2 separate regions of the Homo sapiens genome follow, and region 2 is linked to region 1. Evidence: promoter capture Hi-C in 16 types of primary human blood cells and fetal thymus (Javierre and others, 2016). All regions are on one chromosome and are shown on one strand. The core of a region is centred on a gene start or on the middle of the fragment in contact, and the rest is flanking DNA. Distances in the headings are between cores, read along the strand shown. Region 1 holds the start of ETV3L (ETS variant transcription factor 3 like). Region 2 has its middle 76 kb from the start of FCRL5.

Region 1 (5,945 bases), core at 909-3,408:
GGGAGGCCAAGGCGGGTGGATCACTTAAGGTCAGGAGTTTGAGACCAGCCTGGCCAACATAATGAAACCCCATTCCTACTAAAAATACAAAAATTAGCCAGTCGTGGTGATGGGTGCCTGTAGTCCTAGCTACTTGGGAGGCTGAGGTGGGAGAATTGCCTGTACCTGGAGGTTGCAGTGAGCTGAGATCATGCCACTGCACTGCAGCCTGGGTGACAGAGTGAGACTCTGTCTCAAAAAATAAATAAATAAATAAATAAATAATAGAAGTACAGAGTCTTAGGTCCCCCAAATCCCACTGAATCAGAATCCGTATTTTAAAGAGACCTTCAGATCATTCCTATTCGCATTAGAGTCTGAAAATCACCAACATAGATTTTTTTTTTTTTTAAGTCTTAAGGCAACTCAGTATATGAGAAAGTGCTATGGATTAGGAGTCAGGGGGCAGGGCAGCTAACTCACCACCTGTCTTTGGTCAAGTCATTTTCCCTGTCTGAGCCTCCTCTGGAAAGTGAGGAAGCAACTCCAGACAAATCCTCACATGCCCTCCAGACAAATCCTCACACGCCCTCCAGACCTCACAGCCTAATAAGTTCTCACTGAGACTACTGCACACTAACTCCACCAGAGATGGAGAGCCAGGCCCGGGTCACGTAACCCTGTTCACAGGCAGTCCTAAGCGCCCAGGAACCTCCCAATGCCCTGGCCCACCAGGAGCAGTTCCCATGTGCTGCATCCCCAAGGCAGCCTCTCCCAGTCCCTTTGCATATTGTTTCATCTTCCATTAGTTATAGTGGAAACCAGCCTTTTGCACCATCCAGAAGGCTTTCTGTTCCATCCAGAAGGCTTTAGAGCTTAGATATTTTGTTCTCTTTTCCTATATCAGGCAAGTCTATCTCACTAGGGCTCATTCCATAAACTCCCCACCCTTCTCAGCGGAGAACCACAAGATTCCCGGTTCCTGTCCATGGTTCACCAATTCAACAAATATCTATAAAGCACCTTTGAGTACGATGTCCTGTGCTACGATGGGATCTGGGGAGCCAGCAGAGGAGAACAAGACAGCTAGGGTTGCTGATCTCGGAGCTGACACTCTGAGCGGGATACAGATGTTCAACAAAGAAGACACTATCTATAAGTCCATTACCATTCATTCATTCGATCAGCAATCATTTATTGAACACCTATTTTGCGCCAGGCCCTTGGGACTGGCAAAAAAAAGCCCATAAAAATTCCTGCTCGTCTGGGCACGGTGGCTCACACCTGTAATCCTAGCACTTTGGGAGGCGGAGGCAGGCGGATCACCTGAGGTCAGGAGTTTGAGACCAACCTAGCCAACAGGGCGAAACCCTGTCTCTACTAAAAATACAAAAATACGCTGGGCATGGTGGTGGGCACATGTAATCCCATCTACTCAGGAGGCTGAGGCAGAAGAATCGCTTGAACCTGGGAGGCAGAGGTTGCAGTGGGCCGAGATCTCACCACTATACTCCAGCCTGGGTGACAGAGCGAGACTCCATCTCAAAAAAACAAACAAACAAACAAAAAAACCAAATTCCTGCTCTTCTCAAATGTCAAATTGTTTGAAATACAGTAAAGGCGGCCAGGTGCAGTGGCTCACACTTGTAATCCCAGCACTTTGGGAGGCCGAGGTGGGCGGATCACGAGGTCAGGAGTTCGAGACCAGCCTGGCCAACATGGTGAAACCCCATCTCTACTAAAAATAAAAAATAAAAAAAATTAGCTGGGCGTGATGGCATGCACCTGTAATCCCAGCTACTCGGGAGGCTGAGGCAGGAGAATTGCTTGAATCTAGGAGGCGGAGGTTGCAGTGAGCCGAGATCACCCCATTGCACTCCAGCCTGGGCGACAGGGTGAGACTCTGTCTCAAAAAAAATAAAAAAAGAAAGAAAGAAAGAAAAAAAAGAAATACTGTAAAGGCACAGGTATGTGTATATGCCACCTCCTTCCCACTCAAGATTTAGAATGAGCCCATGATTAATTACATTTCCTTTTGTCTTCTCTTGGGAAAAACTCCAATCCTGTTAAGCCCTAAGAAGAGATCTCATTCTCTGTCTAAATCCCCCAGCAGGGGCAGGATATAGGACCCTTTGCACTTCTCTCCATCTATATAAGTAGCTCAGCCGGAAGCCCTGAGTCCGAGTCAGCCCTGGGCAGCGGGGAGGTCCCCAGAGGGGGCTGGGCCCTGTCTGGGTATGGGGAAGCTTGCTGCCTCTGGTTCCCTTTTCTCCCCTTCACTGGCAACCTCTTGTCCCTTCCCTTTTCTCTCTTTCTTTCCTGACCCTCTCCCTTCCTTCCTTCTTTCCCTCCATTTTTCCTTCCTCTTTCACTGTCCTCCCCTCTGCCTCCTTCCTTCCCTTCCTCTTAAGTGGTGACCATTTCCCCAAGGCCCAGACACAGCCCATCTCGCCGGAGTGGACCATGCACTGCAGCTGCTTGGCTGAGGGCATCCCAGCCAACCCCGGCAACTGGATCTCAGGTGAGCCTCTTGGCCGGGCCTACCCCCTGCTCCAACGGTGGCCTAGGGCAGGGCCTCCAGAGCCCTCACTCTCCCCTCTCCACCCAGGGTTGGCCTTCCCTGATTGGGCCTACAAAGCCGAGTCGTCCCCAGGCTCCCGGCAGATCCAGCTGTGGCACTTCATCCTGGAGCTGCTGCAGAAGGAAGAGTTCCGCCATGTCATCGCCTGGCAGCAGGGAGAGTACGGGGAATTTGTCATCAAGGATCCAGATGAGGTGGCCCGCCTCTGGGGCCGCAGGAAATGCAAACCACAGATGAATTATGACAAGCTGAGCCGGGCCCTCAGGTGAGAGGAGGCGGCTGACATGGCCAAAGAGGGGGGATTTCAAGGAAAAGGGCCGTGGTTTCTGGTACCCCTGCTGACTCCCACCCCTCCAAGGCTTGGGAAGTGTCCTGGCCTGTGGTGAGCAGCCTAGTGGTTCTCGGGGAACAGCTTAGGGTCAGCCCGGCTAGGGAGGAGAATGTGACTGGGTCCCTGACTCTATTCTCTGACTGCTGGGCCAACTCTATTCTCAACTTCGAATTCTCCAGATATTACTACAATAAGAGGATCCTGCATAAGACCAAAGGCAAAAGGTTCACATACAAGTTCAACTTCAGCAAGCTCATCGTAGTCAACTATCCTTTGTGGGAAGTGCGGGCGCCGCCATCCCCCCACTTGCTGCTGGGGGCCCCTGCCCTGTGTCGGCCAGCGCTGGTGCCCGTGGGTGTGCAGAGTGAGGTAAGAGCGGAGGTGGCCCCTGTCTCAGGGCTCCACCAGGTCCTACCCCTCTGCCCAGGAGGCTCCCCACCCTCCTCTTTGCCTCTGGGGCCCATCAGCCTCCAGTTTTCTTCTCCTCCTGCATCCTAGACCCTGAGTGCCCCAGAGGCAGGGGTATTAACAATCCAGGTGGTACAGGACCCACCTGTGAGAAAGGGTGGCTCCTTCTGTCCTAGTCGCCACTCCTTTAGGGGTGGATCAGAGGGAAGGGCCCAGGGCATCTGAGACTGTAGGCAGCCGTGGCAGTGGGCTTTTAACAATGGGTATGAGAGGCCAGGCGTGGTGGCTCACACCTGTAATCCCAGCACTTTGGGAGGACGAGGTGGACGGATCATTTGAGGTCAGGAGTTCGAGACCAGCCTGGACAACGTGGCAAAACCCCATCTCCAATAAAAATATAAAAGTAGCTGGGCATGGTGGCACATGTCTGTAATCCCAGCTACTAGGGAGGCTGAGGCAGGAGAATCGCTTGAACCCAGGAGGCAGAGGTTGCAGTGAGCCAGGATGGCGCCACTGCACTCCAGCCTGGGTGACAGAGCAAGACTCCAACTCAAAAAAAAAAAAATCGGTATGAGAGTATTTCATTGTTTTAGCAACTGGCTAACAGTACCAGATTGTACTGGAGGATACATGCCAAGGAGAGCCCATCACACCTCGCACCTACTTCTCACCCCTCAGCTCCTGCACAGCATGCTATTTGCCCATCAGGCCATGGTGGAGCAGCTGACAGGACAGCAGACCCCCCGAGGGCCACCAGAGACCTCTGGGGATAAGAAGGGGAGCAGCAGCAGCGTCTACCGTGAGTGCTCAAGGCTGGGAGGGCCCAGGGGGATCTTAGCCAGAGGAGGGAGGGCCCTCCTGGCTGAGTACATGGCTGAGGGGGCATGAGACAAGGGATACTATGTAACTCATTCATTCATTCGACCAACATTTATTGAACACCAGCTATTTACTAAGTGCGGGGGTTCAGAGATGAAAGGCTCAAGAGGCTCAGAACCTAGTGGGGAGCAGAGATGGGATTACTGCCAGCGACTGCTGCTGGCATTCAGGTAAGCACTAGGTGCTGTGCATTCAGGCCCAGAGAAGGAACTGGGGCTTCCCAGAGGACACAACACTGGGGCAGGTGAAGGAGGTGGGAAAAGATGCCTAAGCAGAGGGAATAGCATTTATTTATTCTTTTTTTTTTTTTTTTTTTTGAGACGGAGTCTCAGTGTTGCCCAGGCTGGAACACAGTGGCAGGATCTCAGCTCACTGCAGCCTCTGCCTCCCAGGTTCAAGTGATTCTCATGCCTCAGCCTCCTGAGTAGCTGGGACTACAGACATGCACCACCACGCCCAGCTAATTTTTGTATTTTTAGTAAAGACGGGGTTTCACCATGTTGGCCAGGCTGGTCTCAAACTCCTGACCTCAGGTGATCCACCCGCCTCAGCCTCCCAAACTGCTGGGATTACAGGTGTGAGACACCACACCCAGTCAGAAATAGCATTTATAAAGCAAAAAGCTGTGAACAAGTGTAGCAAATCTGGAGAACAGCTGGTAGTTTGCTGTTGGAGAGCAAGTCTTGCGATGCGGTGGGAACAAGCAGGACGGATGAGAGACAGGGCTGGCAAGGCAAACAGGTGTCAGGCCACAGAGGCCGCACAAGCCATGCTAAGGGAGCAGGACTTTCTCCTGTGGGCAGGAGGGACTGGGAGGGAGATCCATGGTCAGACTTTCATTTTATTTTACTTTCTTTTATTATTTTTTGAGATGGCGTTTTGCTCTTGCTGCCCAGGCTGGAGTGCAATGGCACAATCTCGGCTCACTGCAACCTCCGTCTCCTGGGTTCAAGCGATTCTCATGCCTCAGCCTCCCAAGTAACTGGGATTACAGGCATGCGCCACCACCTTGGCTAATTTTGTATTTTTAGTAGAGACCAGGTTTCTCCATGTTGGTCAGGCTGGTCTTGAACTCCTGACCTCAGGTGATCCGCCTGCCTCGGCCTTCCAAAGTGCTGGGATTACAGGCGTGAGCCACCGCGCCCTGCCAGACTTTCATTTTATAAAGATGACTGTGTGTGTGTAGAGTTTGGGTTGGAGGAAGCATAAGACTGGAGTTGGGAGGCTTTTGAAGATAATCTAGGCAGGAGATGATGGGGCGGTAACCAAGACAACGGCCATGGGATGAAGAAGGAGGCTCAGCTGGAGAGAGATTGGGAAGATAGGGTTCATTCACTCATTCACTCACTCATTCATTTCTTCTTTCAACAGATGCTTAATGACCTCCTGTTTAATTTGCCAGGCACTGTCCTAGGGGCTAGGAAGCCAATGTGAGCAACACTGCCTTTATGGGACTTATAGGCAAGGGGGGTGCAGATATTCAACTAATGATCGATAAGTGATTATAACTGTGCTAACTGCTGCAGAGGAGAAGTGCAGGGTGCCGAGGGCATCAGGGAAGACTTCCTTGACAAAGTGACACTTGAGATGACACCCAAAGTATACGTGAGTGTCAGCTTAGCTCAGAGGGAGTAGGGAGAGCATGGCGAGCGAGAGAATAGTGTGTGCAATGGCCCTGGAACAGAGGGCGAGCGAGAGAATAGTGCATGCAATGGCCCTGGAACAGAGAGACTGGGAGAAGGCCAGTGCAGAAACACATGGCCAATG
Region 2 (5,945 bases), core at 1,623-4,122, 380 kb before region 1:
TGGCTCCATAGACTCGAGCATCAGGCCCACTCTAGAGGCCCAAAGGCCCCAGGCCCTAGGTTGGCCTCCCACAGAGTCAGGGTCCTGGCCTGCCCCACCTCCAGGCCAACCACAGTGACTTCAGGTTCCAGACCACCCCCAGAACTAGGCTAGTTCCTGTGGCCCAAGGCTTCAACCTTACCCAAATCCCAGGCCATTTCTGTGGCCCTAAGTACCAGGTCAGTATCCATGGACCCAGCCTCCAGGCATGCCTCAGCTCTAACTCAGGCCCTGCAGCCTCATACTCCAGACGAGCATCCATACAAACAGCCTCCACACTGGCCCTCACAAACCCAAGACCCAGGTTTTCCCCTGCAGAATCAGGTTCTAGGGCCACCTCAGTGCCAGGCCAGCCCCTGTAGACTCAGGTGTCAGGTCCGTCTCCATGGGCCCAGGCACCAGGCCCTTCTAACATCAGTCCAGTCCCTGAAAATTCTGGCTCAAGGCCTTCTCCAATGCCAGGTCATCCACTGTGAACCCAGGCTTCAGGCTAGCCCCCACACACATGGGCTTGAGGCCCACCCTCATGAGCCAGCATTTGGGCCCACTCCGGTAGACCCGGTAAACAGGTCTTCTCCAGTGGAGAAGTACCAGGTACTCTTGTCCGGTACCAGGACAGCCCCTGTAAACCCAGAATCCAGGCCTGTCTGAGAAGACTCAAGCCCCAGGCCTAATCCATTTGAACCAGGCCCTAGATGCAACCTCATCAATCCAGGCACCAGGCATACCCAGCTGCTGACCCAGGCACCAAGCCAGCAGCACAACCACCCAAGGATCACGCCAGATGGCCAGAAAGAACCAAACAGAAATTCTGGAGCCAAAGATCATAATGACTAAAATAAAAAATTTCACAGAGAGGTTCAGCAATGACTCAATCAAGCAAAAGAAAGAATCAGTGAACTTGAATACAGGTCACTTGAAATTACCCAGTCAGGAGAACCAAAAGATAAAAGAAAGAATGAAAATAGAGTGAAGAAAGCCTCCAGGAATTACAGGACAACATCTAGTGAACCAATATACTAATTATGGGTGTCCCAGATGAGTAGAGAAAGAGAAAGATGTAAAAAGACTATTTAAAGAAATAATGACAGAGATGTCTCTTTAATGTACTGTGTTTTGTCAGGAGGTAAATACATGGGTGTAGACAGCAAAAGAGAAAAATCCCTAAGGTATGCAACATTGCCATTAAATGTTATAAAATTGGCAAAAATAGAGGGAAATGATGGATAGGAGGCAGGACTAACTTGCAGCTTCCTCTCAGATGGACAGAGTCGAATGTGGAGACCTACATTGTGAACTTTTGCTCTAAGAACTACCACAGGAACATACCAGGAAAGCCAAGAGAATCCACAGACACTCTGAAGGAGGTGACAGCCAAGGAACTGTGAGTCTGCTTGCTTTCTCAGCTGGGAGGCTTATAGCCTGGGGCAAGTTCTCATCCCTGCTCACTGGTGGTGCTGTTGTGGGGGACTTGGTGGGAGTGAGGCTAGCCTTTTGGGCGGTTGTCTGCATGAGAGCTGGGTGAGACCTGTGGCTGCCAACTTTCTCCCACTTCCCTGATGGCCTGTGTGACACAGCAGAGGCAGCCATAATTACCCTGAAAACATAACTCCATTGGCCTAGGAACCACACCCCCAGCCCCTGCAGCAGCCACAGCAAGCCCCGCCCAAGGAGAGTCTGAGCTCAGACATGCCTAACCCTGCTCCCACCTGATGGTTTTTCTCTACCCGCCCTGGTTGCTGAAGACAAAGGACATAATCTCTTGGGAGCTCTAAGGTCCTTCCCACCACCTGATACTCCCTATACTACCACAGTTGATGCGCTCTTGAAAACACCACCTCCTGGCTGTAGGTCAGCCCAACACATAACCAGCACACTTAACAAAAATATAACCAAAAATCCTCCCAGAGTTCACTTCACTACCCTGCTATCTCCACCAGAGCAGGTGCTGATATCATGGAGAGACCTGAAGACAGATCACATCATGGGACTCTTTGCAGACACTCCCCAGTACCATCCAGGAGTCCAGTAGCTCCACTGGTTGGCTAGATCCAGAAGAGAAATCACAATCACTGCTGTTCAGCTCTCAGGAAGCCCCATCCCTAGAGGAAAGGGGAGAGCACCACATCAAGGGAGCACCCTGTGGGACACAAGAGTGGGAACAGTAGCCCTTGAGTTCCAGATCTTTCCTCTGACAGTCTACCCAAATGAGAGGAAACCAGAAAAACAATTCCACAATGTTCTTTAACTCCCCCAAAAGGTCACAGTAGGTCACCAGCAATGGATCCAAACCAAGACAAGATATTTGAATTGCCAGAAAAAAAATTCAGAAGGTTGACTACTAAGCCAATCAAGCAGCTTTACTCTAGGGACTGTGCTTGAGGTGTTCTGTCCAGTTTCCTTTTCTTCCAGTTTCTGAAGCCCCTTAGCTGCATTTTTTTTTTCAATTGCTTACCCATCATTCCATTTGCCCTCAGTAGTCAAGTCAACCTGTGAGGGTCTCTTAAGCATCAGCAAGCCAGCTGTGATAAGAGTTATGGTAGCCTCCACTCCTGGAACACACATGGTACCAACTGCATGCACTGGAGGAACACACTCCCCTGTCACCCCAGCCGTGAGCCTCCCAACTTCATGGGTTCAAGTCAGCCTGGCCCACCTGTGTAGTCCCCACAGTTCCTCTGAGCCATGAGGACCAGCAGCCTCTCCCAGGTCTACCCTCAAGCTTGAACCCATGAAAATTAATTGGTCTCTGAAAGCCAAGCTCTCTTCACAGTACTGCAGTTCCCCCATGCCCTATCCCCAGCTCCCACCACATGGTCACTGGTCTCCCAGCTCTTATATCACCCAGATGATAGCCATCTGACTGTTCTCTCTAATAAAGATTCATGAAGAGCTCGCCTCGTATATGCTGTTGTTTTTAGTTTAATGAGATATTGGAAGCTTTTGATAGAGCTGTTTAAGAGGATTGTAGAGGCTAAGGGAAAGTTCAAATGTTAAAAAATTTAATAAAGTACATAACCGTGAATTTTAACAGGATTAAAATTCAAAAGGTCCATAACAATAGACCATGAAAAGACTCTCCCTTTATTATTTTTTTGCTGTACCCTTTCAGAGATATTCTATCCATATGCCAACAAAATGTATACGTAATTTCCCTCCATTTTTACACAAATGTTAACATACTATAAACTCTGCCCTGCTTTTTTTGCCTTAATGATGAATCTGAGCAATTATTTTATAGTAGTACATAAAGAGCTGCCTTAATTTTTGCATGGTTGCATAGGATTCCCCTGTGTTGTTACTGATTCTCTATTGCCTCCAACTAATGAACATTTTAAGTACTTTCTGTTTTACCTTGTTATTATTTGAGTAGCAATATTGTTCTTAATTTGTGATATTTTTTCTGACTATATAGTCATTTTTGCCATGAAGAAAATTTTTATTTTTCTGTTGTCAAATCTATGAACTTTTTGTGATTTCAAGAGTTTGCTATTGCTTGTGTGTTTGATTTGTCATATGGGCTTTCTCACCCTTGGTTATTAAAAGATTTTTTTTTAGACAGGCACAGTGATGCATACCTGTAATCCCAGCACTTTGGGAGGTTGAGACAGGTGGATCACTTGAGGCCAGGGGTTCAAGACCAGCCTGGTCAACATGGAGAAATCCTGTCTCCAATAAAAATACAAAAATTAGCCATGCATGGCTGCACATGCTTGTGGTTCCAGCTACTTGAGAGGCTGAGGCGTGAGATTTGCTTGAACCCAGAAGGCAGAGGTTGCAGTGAGCCAAGATGATACCACTGCACTCTAGCCTCAGTGACAGAGCAAGACTCTGTCTCAAAAAAAAATCATTTTTTCCATTTTTTATTATTTAAAGGTTTTTTGTATGTGATATATTTTTCAGTGTGGTAAAATATGCATAAAATAAAATTTACCATTTGTAAGTGTAGAGTTCAAAACATTCACAATGTTTTGCCACCATCATCACTATCCATTTCTAGCGGGAAATTTCTAGACGCATTTAAACCTTTGGTCTTTGTGGAATTTATCTTGGTATGAAGTATGTACTATGAATCCAACTTTTTTTTCCTGATGGCCGGCCAGTTGTTTCAAAACCATTTATTGTTTTCTTTTCTGGACTTTCTATGTCTATTCATTTATTGATACCATACTGCTTTAATAACTGGAGTTTCATGATATGTTTTAATATCTGGTAGCTTGTCCCCTTGATTATGCTTATTTTTCAGAATTGTTTTGGATGTTCTTGACCCATTCTTCCATATAAAGGATCTGCTTGTCTGGATTTTTTTAAAAATCCTATTATTTTTAAATTAGAATCACATTTAATTTATAGATTAATTTCATGAGAATTGACTTCTGTATAATTTAATTTTCCTACTGGGGAATGTGCTATATGTTTTTATTTGTTCAGACATTATTTTTGTATTCTTCAGTAGCATTTTATATTTTTCATCATACATCTTTTGTACATTTCCCATTAGGTTTTAAATAAGCATTTTATTTTGCTGATGCCAAAATATCTTTCTGATTATTAGTATCATGTAATGAGTCTATTTATTTCTCCACATTAAGCTTGTATCCAACTCTCTTCCTGAGTTCTCTTATCATTTGTAATAATTTTCCTATATTTTGAGGTTTCCAGTAACAAATTAAATCATCTGTAGATAATGATAAATAAATAACTTTCAATAACTTCAGAGTATTGCTCTTGTCCCCCAGGCTGGAGTGCAATGGTGCAATCTTGGCTCACTGCAACCTCCACCTCTCAGGTTCAAGCAATTCTCCTGCCTCAGCCTCCTGAGTAGCTGGGATTACAGGTTCCTGCCACCATGCCTGCCTAATTTTTGTATTTTTAGTAGAGATGGGGTTTCACCATGTTGGCCAGGCTGGTCTCGAACTCCTGACCTCAGGTGATCCACCCGCCTCAGCCTCCCAAAGTGCTGGGATTACAGGCGTGAGCCACCACGCCCGGTCAGCTTTGAAAGTTTTATACTTCACTTCTTTCTCTGGTCTAACTATGTGAACTAATATGTCTAATGCTGTTACATTAAAATGGTGAAAGTATAATTACTTATTCTCTAAACATTGGTTAAAATTAATTTGTGAAACTGAGCCAGCTACTTTCTGAGGAATATTCTTCGACAAAATAATCTGTTTATTTTTAACAAAGTAATTTATCTGTTTATATATTTTTTCTCTTCTGGAGTCAATATTATTAAATTATATTTTTCTAGAAAATTATTTATTTTATCTAAGTTTTCAATATATTCATATAAAGTTAAGCAAAATGAACTTTTAACTTCCTGTGTATTTGTGGTTACTTTCTGCTATTTAATTTCTGCATTTGGGTATTTAATCTTTTAAGGAGGATTGTTGGAAGATTATAGACACTAGATCATGCTGATGTGCTGGTGGGAATGATTCAATGTTTTGTTTCTAACAAAACACTTCTGAGAAAGAGACAGTTTTTTCCCACCAAAGCAATGTTCGGTCTTTGAACAGGAAAAAATAATTAAAAGAAGGCAAATGATTAGGGTTCAGGAAAATATAGGAATGAGGGAATTTCCAGAGACCAAAAACAGTATCAGGGAGCTTCAGGAGCTTTGCACAGAAGTGAAATTAGGATCTGTGTTTTCTGTATGGTCTGGAATACTTGAGAGCTGCCTGACTCTTCTCTCTCTCTCTCTCTCTCTCTCTCTTTCTCTTTCTCTCTCTTTCTGTCTTTCTCTTTCTCTCTCTCTATGTGTGTGTGTGTGTATGTCTTCTTATCTGTTCCTCTCCCTCTCTCCCTCTTTTGCTCCCTCCCTTTTAGATGTAAATAAATTTATTAAGCTATTTCTCATGGGCTACGGAAAGGATTGTTTACTGTGAACAGGGAGATGGAGT

Evidence for each region. The method cuts DNA at HindIII sites, captures the fragments that hold promoters and counts their contacts. A CHiCAGO score of 5 or more calls a contact.
Region 2: a contact is called between a fragment that was not itself captured here and the fragment with the promoter of ETV3L in region 1, in 1 of 17 cell types (total B cells). The highest score is 5.8, in total B cells.

What each region holds. Positions count from the first base shown.
Region 1 is chr1:157,096,021-157,101,965 of GRCh38, reverse strand. It overlaps ETV3L (ETS variant transcription factor 3 like), which reads left to right and starts at 2,158. Exons shown (of 5, transcript NM_001004341.2): 1 at 2,158-2,500; 2 at 2,588-2,825; 3 at 3,071-3,260; 4 at 3,978-4,098. The coding sequence starts at 2,443. The HindIII fragment of the contact is 3,618 bases long and covers 1-2,227 here.
Region 2 is chr1:157,473,346-157,479,290 of GRCh38, reverse strand. No RefSeq gene overlaps it. Among named protein-coding and RNA genes, the nearest start is that of FCRL5, 76 kb to the left of the region's middle. The HindIII fragment of the contact is 218 bases long and covers 2,764-2,981 here.